Regions from separate parts of the Homo sapiens genome. Here region 2 is linked to region 1. Evidence: promoter capture Hi-C in 16 types of primary human blood cells and fetal thymus (Javierre and others, 2016). All regions are on one chromosome and are shown on one strand. Each heading gives the region's core, a stretch centred on a gene start or on the middle of the fragment in contact. The rest is flanking DNA. Distances are from core to core; before and after follow the strand shown.

The links. Contacts are between HindIII fragments. The CHiCAGO score rates a contact against its expected background, and 5 or more counts as called.
Region 2: a contact is called between a fragment that was not itself captured here and the fragment with the promoter of ATP6V0E1 in region 1, in 2 of 17 cell types (total CD4 T cells and non-activated CD4 T cells). The highest score is 5.2, in total CD4 T cells.

The regions. Positions count from the first base shown.
Region 1 is chr5:172,982,419-172,987,199 of GRCh38, forward strand. It overlaps ATP6V0E1 (ATPase H+ transporting V0 subunit e1), which reads left to right and starts at 1,353. Exons shown (of 4, transcript NM_003945.4): 1 at 1,353-1,546. The coding sequence starts at 1,443. RefSeq lists an enhancer at 1,168-1,462 and a silencer at 1,228-1,407. The HindIII fragment of the contact is 8,334 bases long and covers 1-4,781 here.
Region 2 is chr5:173,185,963-173,190,753 of GRCh38, forward strand. No RefSeq gene overlaps it. Among named protein-coding and RNA genes, the nearest start is that of BNIP1, 44 kb to the left of the region's middle. RefSeq lists a silencer at 1,681-1,800. The HindIII fragment of the contact is 1,672 bases long and covers 894-2,565 here.

The DNA.
Region 1 (4,781 bases), core at 103-2,602:
TTCTTTTTCTTTCTTTCTTTTTTTTTTTTTTTTTGAGGCAGAGTTTCACTCTGTCGCCAAGGCTGGAGTGCAGTGGTGCGATCTCAGCTCATTATAACCTCTGCCTCCCAGGGATTCAAGCGGTTCTTGTTCCTCAGCCTCCTGAGTGGCTGGGACTACAGGTGCATACCTGGCCAATTTTTGTATTTTTAGTAGAGATGGGATTTCACCATGTTGCCCAGGCTAGTCTTGAACTACTGACCTCAGGTGATCTGCCCGCCTCGGCCTCCCAAAGTGCTGGGATTACAGGTGTGAGCCACCATGCCTGGCCTGTTTTTCTTCTTACCATTCTGGCTAATTTCTACTTGTCTTTCAAGGCTCAGCAAGGACGAGTTGGGTAGAAAGCCTTGCAGGGTCGTCCACTTACTTTCACACTGCATTGAGTCGCCTGTTTGCAAGGTCATCTGCTCCCCAGAATGTGAACTCCCTCAGGGGTGCCTGATTGACTTCTGTAACTCCAGAGCCTGGCACAGCACACAAGATAAATAGTGGTGCGCTAGTTAAGAGCTCTGGCCTTGAAAATCAGATAATCAGGGGTTGAATCCTGGCCCTGCCACTTACTATGTGACTTTGGGCAAGATCCTTATCCTCTTCCCTGGGCCTCAGTTTCTTCAACTGCAAAGTGGGGATAATAATTACAATTACCTCATAGGCTGAAGTGAGGAGTTCAACACGGGCTCATGCACTTTTTTTTTTTTCTTTTGAGACAGAGTGTTGTTCTGTTGCCCAGGCTGGAGTGCAGTGGCGCAATCTCGGCTCACTGCAACCTCCACCTCCCGAGTTCAATTGATTCTCCTGCCTCAGCCTCCTGAGTAGCTGGGACCACAGGCGCGCACCACCACACCCAGCTAATTTTTGTATTTTTAGTAGAGACAGGGTTACACCATGTTGGCCAGGCTGGTCTCGAACTCCTGACCTCAAGTGATCCGCCTGCCTCAGCCTGCCAAAGTGCTGGGATTACAGGCGTGAGCCACCGCACCCGGCCTGGGGCTCATGAACTTAAAGATCATGGCCCAGTGCCAGGCACACGGGAATTCAGAATAGTAAGGGACAACTATTGTTAAGTTCTCTATGTCTGTTGCATAAGTAGATGAGGCTGTAGATAACTACACTCTTTGTCTAAAAGGGCCAAGTTCTCATCAGAACACTTTGCTGAGCCCCGGGTGACCGAATCCCTAGCTCTGGGGTGAGCGACATGCCTCCAAGGAGCTGCAGCCAGGAGACAGCCAGGCGAAGGCGGGGCTCTGCCTCTGGGCTCCCCGAGGGGCGGAGGCCGGCGCGCGGGTCACGTGGGGGCGCGGGAGGCGGGGCTTGCACACGCTGGTCACGCGGTCAGCTATTGACACTTCCTGGTGGGATCCGAGTGAGGCGACGGGGTAGGGGTTGGCGCTCAGGCGGCGACCATGGCGTATCACGGCCTCACTGTGCCTCTCATTGTGATGAGCGTGTTCTGGGGCTTCGTCGGCTTCTTGGTGCCTTGGTTCATCCCTAAGGGTCCTAACCGGGGGTAAGTGCGTGAGGCCCGCCTTGGGAGGAACGGGCGGTGAGGAGCTAGCAGGCCGGGGCGGGGAAAGGCACGACCCCCACACGGGTCAGAGAACGTTGCATGGGCGCCCCCCGCGCTGCAGAGTCAGGCCCCCGACCCGGCGGAACTCCTTGTGTTCCTTTTCGCAGCAGCTTCAGTGTCCTCCGGCCTGAGCGAGTGGAGGGTGACCTTTGGTGGACCCCCCTTGGAAACGAGTTTCAGGGGAATTTTTTCTCATCATAGTCCTGTGTGGGGAGGTGCAGTCGGAAATGAGCAGGCCGAATCTGGGAGAAACTGGGGTTTGTCCCTAGTCGACTGTCCCCCTTTAGCCCTGCCTTCCACCCACATGAGGCCTCGTTTGCCTGAACTTAAGGATCAAATAAATAAAACAGAAATTGGCTTCTCTGCCTCCCATGCTGTCGCGGTTGCGTACAGAACAAGCTCCTTCGACAACATTGAGCCCAGGCCTTGCATCTAGTGGGCGCCAGGAGGCGGTTGGGGCCTGATCTAAAGCGAGATTAATTACCAAAGAGCAGGAGGTATTGTTGAGAAACCCCTGCGTCATGCCTTTTGGAGGGCGCTCCGGCTCTTGTATGTGAGTGTAAGAAGTGCTTAGAATGATTGGCTAAGAAAGATTTTGTTTTTCCAGACTTCTTTGTTGGTTAGAGCTTTGTCTCTTTTGGAATTAAACTTTTTAACTGTAGTATAAAATAGAGGCTTAATCTTCAAAGGAGCCTTGGAACACCCTCTTCCTGGTTCCTCTTTTGCTTCTCAGTCATTTTTTTCTCAGTTCAAGATGATGAGAGGTGAAACTTCGACTGAAGTCAGTTTGTCAGAAACACCATCTCTTGCTTTATTCTTGAACCTAATTGGTGGCTTCATAGTGCCTGGTTTTCATAGTACCTTGTATGCACAGGAGGCACCCAATAAATACCTGTTGAGTGAATAGTTCTATTGTCTTTATTAAAAGAAAAAGATTTTTGGCCAGGTGCCGTGGCTCACGCCTGTAATCCCAGCACTTTGGGAGGCCAAGGCGGGCGGATCACGAGGTCAGGAGATCGAGACCATCCTGGCTAACACGGTGAAACCCGTCTCTACTAAAAACACAAAAAATTAGCCGGGCGTGGTGGCGGGCGCCTGTAATCCCAGCTACTCGGGAGGCTGAGGCAGGAGAATGGCGTGAACCCAGGAGGCAGAGCTTGCAGTGAGCCGAGATCGCGCCACTGCACTCCAGCCTGGGCGACAGAGCGAGACTCCGTCTCAAAAAAAAAAAAAAAAAAGAAAGAAAAAGATTTTTACTACTTCCCTAATATTTTGTGACCTGAACCCCTTTTGCTCCCTGGGATACATTTGCTTTATTAGTCTAAAATTATTTTTTTTTAAAAGATACATGGTAGATGAATTTTTATCATTTTTAAGTATCAAGTTCCTCCTCCCTGGTAACACCAGTTATATGGGGTCATCTCTCCTACCTATAGAGGTTGATGGACAGAGTCAGAATTCTGGCATTATTAAAGCAATTGTATTTACCAAAGTTAATTAGACTTGTTTTTCCTACTGGAGTTAGCGAACAACAAAGTGCTTCTTTGTTGTGTTTATATCTTCAACTGTTTCATTACCCTACTGTCTGCCTTTATGGCCTTTGTACTCAAAGAAGCATTTATTAATGTACTAATAGCACTGACAATTCCTTTCTTAAAGACCATTCTCTCCCCTTCCTTGGGATGTCATTGCCATTATCCAGGGTAATGAAACCCATCCTGTTTCCACTTAGCCCTAGAGAGTGTCATGATTCAGGTATTTGACCAGCTAGTGATATATAGACATGTGTCACTTAACAAAAGGACTATGTTTGAGAAATGTGTTAGTTGGGCTTTTGTGTGAACAAAGAGTTTACTTAAACAGATGGTACAGCCTACTACACACCTAGGCTATTTGGTAGAACCTGTTGCCTCTAGGTAGGCTACACACCTGTACAGCATGTTACTGTCCTTAAATACTGTATAGACAAATGTAACACAATGGTATTTGTGTATCTAAACATAGAAAAGGTACAGTAAAAATACATATCAAAGATTTAAAATGGTCCACCTGTGTAGGGCACTTACCATGAATGGAGCTTGCAGGACTGGAAATTGCTGTGAGTGAGTCAGTGACTGGTGAGTGAATGTGAAGAACCAGGACATTGCTGTATACCATGGTGGACTTTAGAAACACTGTATACTTAGGCTACATGAAATTTCTGAAAAAATATTTTTCTTTCTTCAAAAATAAATTAACCTTAGCTTCCTGTAACTTTTTTACTTAAACTTTTGAATTATTTTTAACTTTTTGACTCTTGTACTAACACTTGGCTTAAAACACAAGCAAGGCTGGGCACGGTGGCTCACACCCATAATATGCAGCACTTTGGGAAGCCGGACAAGAGGATTGCTTGAGACCAGCCTGGGCAACACAGCGAGACCTTATCTCTGAAAAAAATTTTTTTTAATTAGTTGGGTATGGTGGTGCACACCTGTGGTCCTAGCTACTGGGGAGGCTGAGTGAGGGGGATGGGAGTGTTTGAGACCAGGAGTTCCAGGATGCAGTAAGCTATGATCACACCACTGTACTCCAGCCTGGGCAACAGTGAGACCCTGTCTCTTCAAAAATGAAACAAGTCCAGTGTCAGAGTCTGGGGAAGAGGCTGCAGGCACCATGTCCATTTTCACAGATGGCAGGAAGAAGCCCCTGAAACAGCCCAAGAAGCAGGCCAAGGAGATGGATGGGGAAGATAAGGTTGGTTTTTTGTTGTTTTTGTTTGTTTGTTTGTTTGTTTGTTTTTGAGACAGAGTCTCACTCTGTCGCCAGGCTGGAGTGCAGTGGCGTGATACTGGCTCACTGCACCCTCCGCCTCCTGGGTTCAAGCAATTCTCCTGCCTCAGCCTCCCGAGTAGCTGGGGTTACAGGCGCGCACCACCATGCCCAGCTAATTTTTGTATTTTTAGTAGAGACGGGATTTCACCATGTTGGCCAGGATGGTCTCGATCTCTTGACCTCATGATCCGCCCATCTCAGCCTCCCAAAGTGCTAGAATTACAGGCATGAGCCACCACGCCCGGCTGGAAGATACATTTTTTAAACAAAAAGAGGAGCAGAAGAAACTGGAGGAGCTGAAAGTGAAGGCCATGGGGAAGGGGCCCCTGGTCATAGGTGGAATTAAGAAATCCGGCAAAAA
Region 2 (4,791 bases), core at 480-2,979, 200 kb after region 1:
CTTGGGCAGCTTCGTAAGTGCACGTCTACACAGGAAGAACATTAATGCATTGTCTGTAATAGCGAATATTTGAAACAACTGAAATGCACATCTAAAGGATGAAGAAATTGGAGTGTATTTCTTCAGTGGACTACAATGCAGCAGGAAAAGGAATGTTTGGCATCTGTGTGTATCAACATGGATCAATCTCACGATGTCAATCAAAAAAAGCAGCCGCAGAACGATTCTCATAGTTGACTACTATTTGTGTAAAGTTACATTTTTTGGTTGTGGTAAAATACATATAACATACAATTGACTATCTTAACCATTTGTAAGTGTATTTATTTCAGTGGTATTAAATACACTCATGATGTTACGCAACCATCAGCACCATCCAGCTCCAGAACTCTTTTTTTCTTTTGAGACAGAGTTTCGCTCTTGTTGCCCAGGCTGGCGTGTGGTGGCACGATCTTGGCTCACTGCAACCTCTGCCTCGCAGGTTCTAAGCGATTCTCCTGCCTCAGCCTCCCAAGTAGCTGGGACTACAGGTGCCTACCACCATGCCCAGTTAGTTTTATTTTTTATTTTTATATTTGTAGTAGAGACAGGGTTTTGCCATGTTGGCCAGGCTGGTCTCAAACTCCTGACCTCAGGTGATCTGCCTGCCTCGGCCTCCCAAAGTGCTGTGATTACAGGCGTGAGCCACTGCACCCGGCCTCAGAACTGTTTATCTTGTGAAAGTGAAGCTCTGTCCCCATTATACAACTCCCCACTCTCCCCTTCCCCCAGGCCCTGACAACCAGCATTTCACTTCCTGTCTCTATGATTTTGACTACTCGGCTCCGATAAGTGGAATCATACTGTATTTATCTTTTTGTGACTGGCTTATTTCACCTAGCCTGATGTCCTCAAGCTTCACTCATGTTATAGCATAGGTCAGAATTTCCTTCCTTTTTAACACTGAATAATATTCCTTGCATAAAGTTTTAAACATGAAAAACAATTACATATTTTAATGGATATATACGCATGTGGTAAAATAGAAAGAAACGAATGAAAAGAATAGACACCAAAGTCAGGATGGTGTCTGCCTCTGCAGGGGCGAGGGGAGATGGTACTGGGAGGGGCGTGCAGGGGCTTCGGTGGAGTCAGCAGTAGCTTGCTTCCTAGCCAGGGGATTTTATTCTGTATGCCAGCGCTTCCTTACACTCATGCCGTGCCCAGCATACACGTGTGCTGAGCTCAACACTCAGGTGTGCCTGAGATATCCACACCTTGAGTCCTCTGGGCAGCCTAGCAGAGCCTGGGGCAACTGGAGCCCCTGGGCTGTGAGCCCACTTTGGGGAGGCCCAGTTGAGTGACAGGACCTGAGAAGCACCCTGTGGTGCCCCAGCGGCCTCAGGAGCACCGTGAGCCTTGGTGGTATGCCCTGATCTAGGCGGGGTCCTGAGTGCCATCAAGAAAGAGCTGCTTGCTGCCTGGATGTGGAGGACAGTAGCCAGCCGCCAGGCATTATGCTGTCTGGTTTGGGCAAGAGCCACAGGGGCTGGTGAGCTTGCATTGCAGGTGCCCAGGAGTAGCGGGTACAGACTGAAGGGAGGCCCCCTAGGGGTTGGAGGGAAGGATGAGGGCAGGTGCCTGGGCAGGCCCAGCTCCGGGCTGCCTGCTCTGTCTTCACACAGATGCTTCTGTTTGGGTGACTGTAGGGGTACAGGGGTAACTGTGCCACCTGCAGGCAACCATTGCAGTCAATCATGTGTGCTCTACAAGTTAGAGTGTCAGCATTATTGTGACATACTCAGTATGAAAAAATCGGACTGGCTCACGCCTATAATTCCAGCACTTTGGGAGACCAAGGCAGGCAGATGACTTGAGGTCAGGAGTTCAAGACCAGCCTGGTCAACATAATGAAATCCTGTCTCTACTAAAAATACAAAAAAAAAAAAAAAAATTACCCGGGAGTGATGGTGCATGCCTATAACTCCAGCTACTCGGGAGGCTGAGGCACAAGAATCTCTTGAATCTGGGAGGCAGGGGTTGCAGTGAGCCGAGATTGCACCACCGCACTCCAGCCTGGGCGACAGAGTGAGACTCTGTCTCAAAAAGGAAAAAAAAGAAAGTTGGACTGGATTAGAAATCCTAAGAAGTTCCTATATCATAATTGCCAAGGAAAGAAAGGGTGATCCTTTATGTGTAGTTTTGACCATTGTAAAAATTTTAAGGTAGAAAAACACAATTTTTAAACCTTTTTAAAAGTCACTTACTTGTAAAAGCAAAATTTCTTGGCAATGATGATTACTAAGAATCTGAAACTCTTGCATTCAAGGGATGATATGTCATTTAACAGAAAGAAGAGGAAACTGGTCACAGTGGCTGATGCCTGTAATTCCAGCACTTTGGGAGGCCAAAGCGGGAGGATTGTTTGGGGCCAGAGGTCAAAGCTGCAGGGAGCCATGGTTGCACCATTGCACTCCAGCCTGGGCAACAGAATGAGACCATGTCTCTTAAAAATCAATCAATCAATCAATCAATCAATCAATCAATCAATGATGAAGAATCATTTAAAAAAAACCTAGAATTTGAAGCTTGTCTCATTAAATCAGGACTCACGGGTGCCCACTGAGCCTGAAGCCTGACATAAAAATTATTTTTATGGAAGTAAGTCTTCCTTAAGATTTTGGAAAATATTTTATTCAAATTTTATGTTAAATATATTTTCCCCTCTTTGTATTTTACCTTTGAATCAGAATTATATAATCTAAAAATGTGGTAATTTTTTTTCTTTTTTTTAGAGACAGAGTCTTGCTCTGTTGCTCACGCTGGAATGCAGTGGCATGATCACGGTCCCTGCAGCCTTCACTTTCCTGGGCTCAAGCGATCCTCCAACCTTGGCCTCCTGAGTAGCTGGGACTACAGACATGTGTCACCATGTCCAGCTAATTTTTGAATTTGTAGTAGAGATGGGGTTTTGCCATGTTGGCCAGGCTGTTCTCGAACTCCTGACCTCAGGTGATCCACCTGCCTCGGCTTCCCAAAGTGCTGGGATTACAGACGTGAGCCACCATACCTGGCCTGATTTCCATTTAGAAAATTGACTAACTACATGGTTCCTTAAAACACAAAATTTAAAGCGTTTGCAGAGAGTAACTTCTTTTATTTTTATTTTATAGAGACAGAATCTCTCTGCCATCCCAGGCTGGAGTGCAGTGGTGCACTTATAGCTCAATGCAGCCTTTACCTCCTGGGCTCGACCGATCCTCCTACCTCAGCCTCCTGAGTAGCTGGGACCACAGGCATACACTTCCATGACTGGCTAATTTTTTCATTTTTATTTTTTGTAGAGATAGGATCTAACTATGTTACCCAGGCTGGTCTCAAACTCCTGGCCTCAAGCGATCTTCCCACCTCAGCTTCCCAAGGTGCTAGGATTACAGGCATGAACCACTGCTCCCAGATGCAGATAGTCATTTCTTAGCAGAGGTGTGCTGGATAACAGAGACACTTAAAGTGAAACATTCACTTCGGTATTCATCTTGGCAAAATGAAAATGTATGTCCATACAAACATCTGTACACAAATGTTCACAGCAGCTTTAATAGCCAAAAAAAAAGGGACACAACTCAAATATCCAGCAGGTGAATGGTTAAACACACTCTGGGATGTCTGTACACTGGAATACTACTGAGCAATGCGGAGGGTCCACCTACTGCTCTGGGCAACTGCTGAGAGGGACTATGACGGAATGATGCTGAGTGAGAAAAGCCAATCTCAAGTGGTTACATACCATCAGAGACCATCTCTATAACATTCTTGTTTGAGAAACAGCTTTATTGATGTATATACTCACATATGATTTACCCATTTATCATGTACAATGCTGTGGCTTTTAGTATTTTCACAGAGTTGGATAACGATCACCACAGTCAATTTTAGAACATTTTCATCGCCTCCAGATGAAACCCTTTAATCCCTCAATTCCCCCCTCAACCACCCCATCCCTCGGCAATCACAATCTACTTTGCGTCTCTGTAGCTTTGCTTATTCTGGACATTTCATATAAGTGGAATTATACAGTATGCAATATTGCGTGATTGGCTTCTTTCACTTGGAATCATATTTCGTTTTTCAAAAACTCTAAATTCAGGAGGTACATCATGTGCAGGTTTGTTACATGGGTATATTGTGTGATGCTGAGGTTTGGGCTTCTAATGATCCCGCTGCCCAACTGGTGAACATAGGACCTGATAGGTGGGTTTCCAACCCTTACCCCCTTCTTCCCTCCCACTTTTGGAATCCCCAGTGTTTACTGTTCCCATCTCTGTGTCACGTGTACCCATCTATAACATTCTTGAAATGATAAAACTACTGAGATGAAGAACGGAGTAGTGGCTGCCAGGGGACCAGAGGTGCAGAGGGCTGAGTGTAAAGAGGCAGCTTGACAGAGTTCCTGTGTAAGAATGGGACTGGTTTGGATTTTTTTTTTTTTTTTTGAGACAGAGTCTTGCTCTGTCACTCAGGCTGGAGTGCAGCGGCACGATTTCGGCTCACCGCAACCTCTACCTGCTGAGTGCAAGTGATTCTCCTACCTCAGCCTCCCGAGTAGCTGGGATTACAGGCATGGGCCACCATGCCCAGCTATATTTTTGTGTTTTTAGTAGAGACAGGGTTTCACCATGTTGGCCAGGCTGGTCTCGAACTCCTGACCTCAGGCAATCCACCTGCCTCGGCCTCCCAAAGTGCTGAGATTACAGGCTTAGAGCCACCGTCCCAAGCCTGGTCTGGATCTTAATTGTGGTAGTGGCTACACAA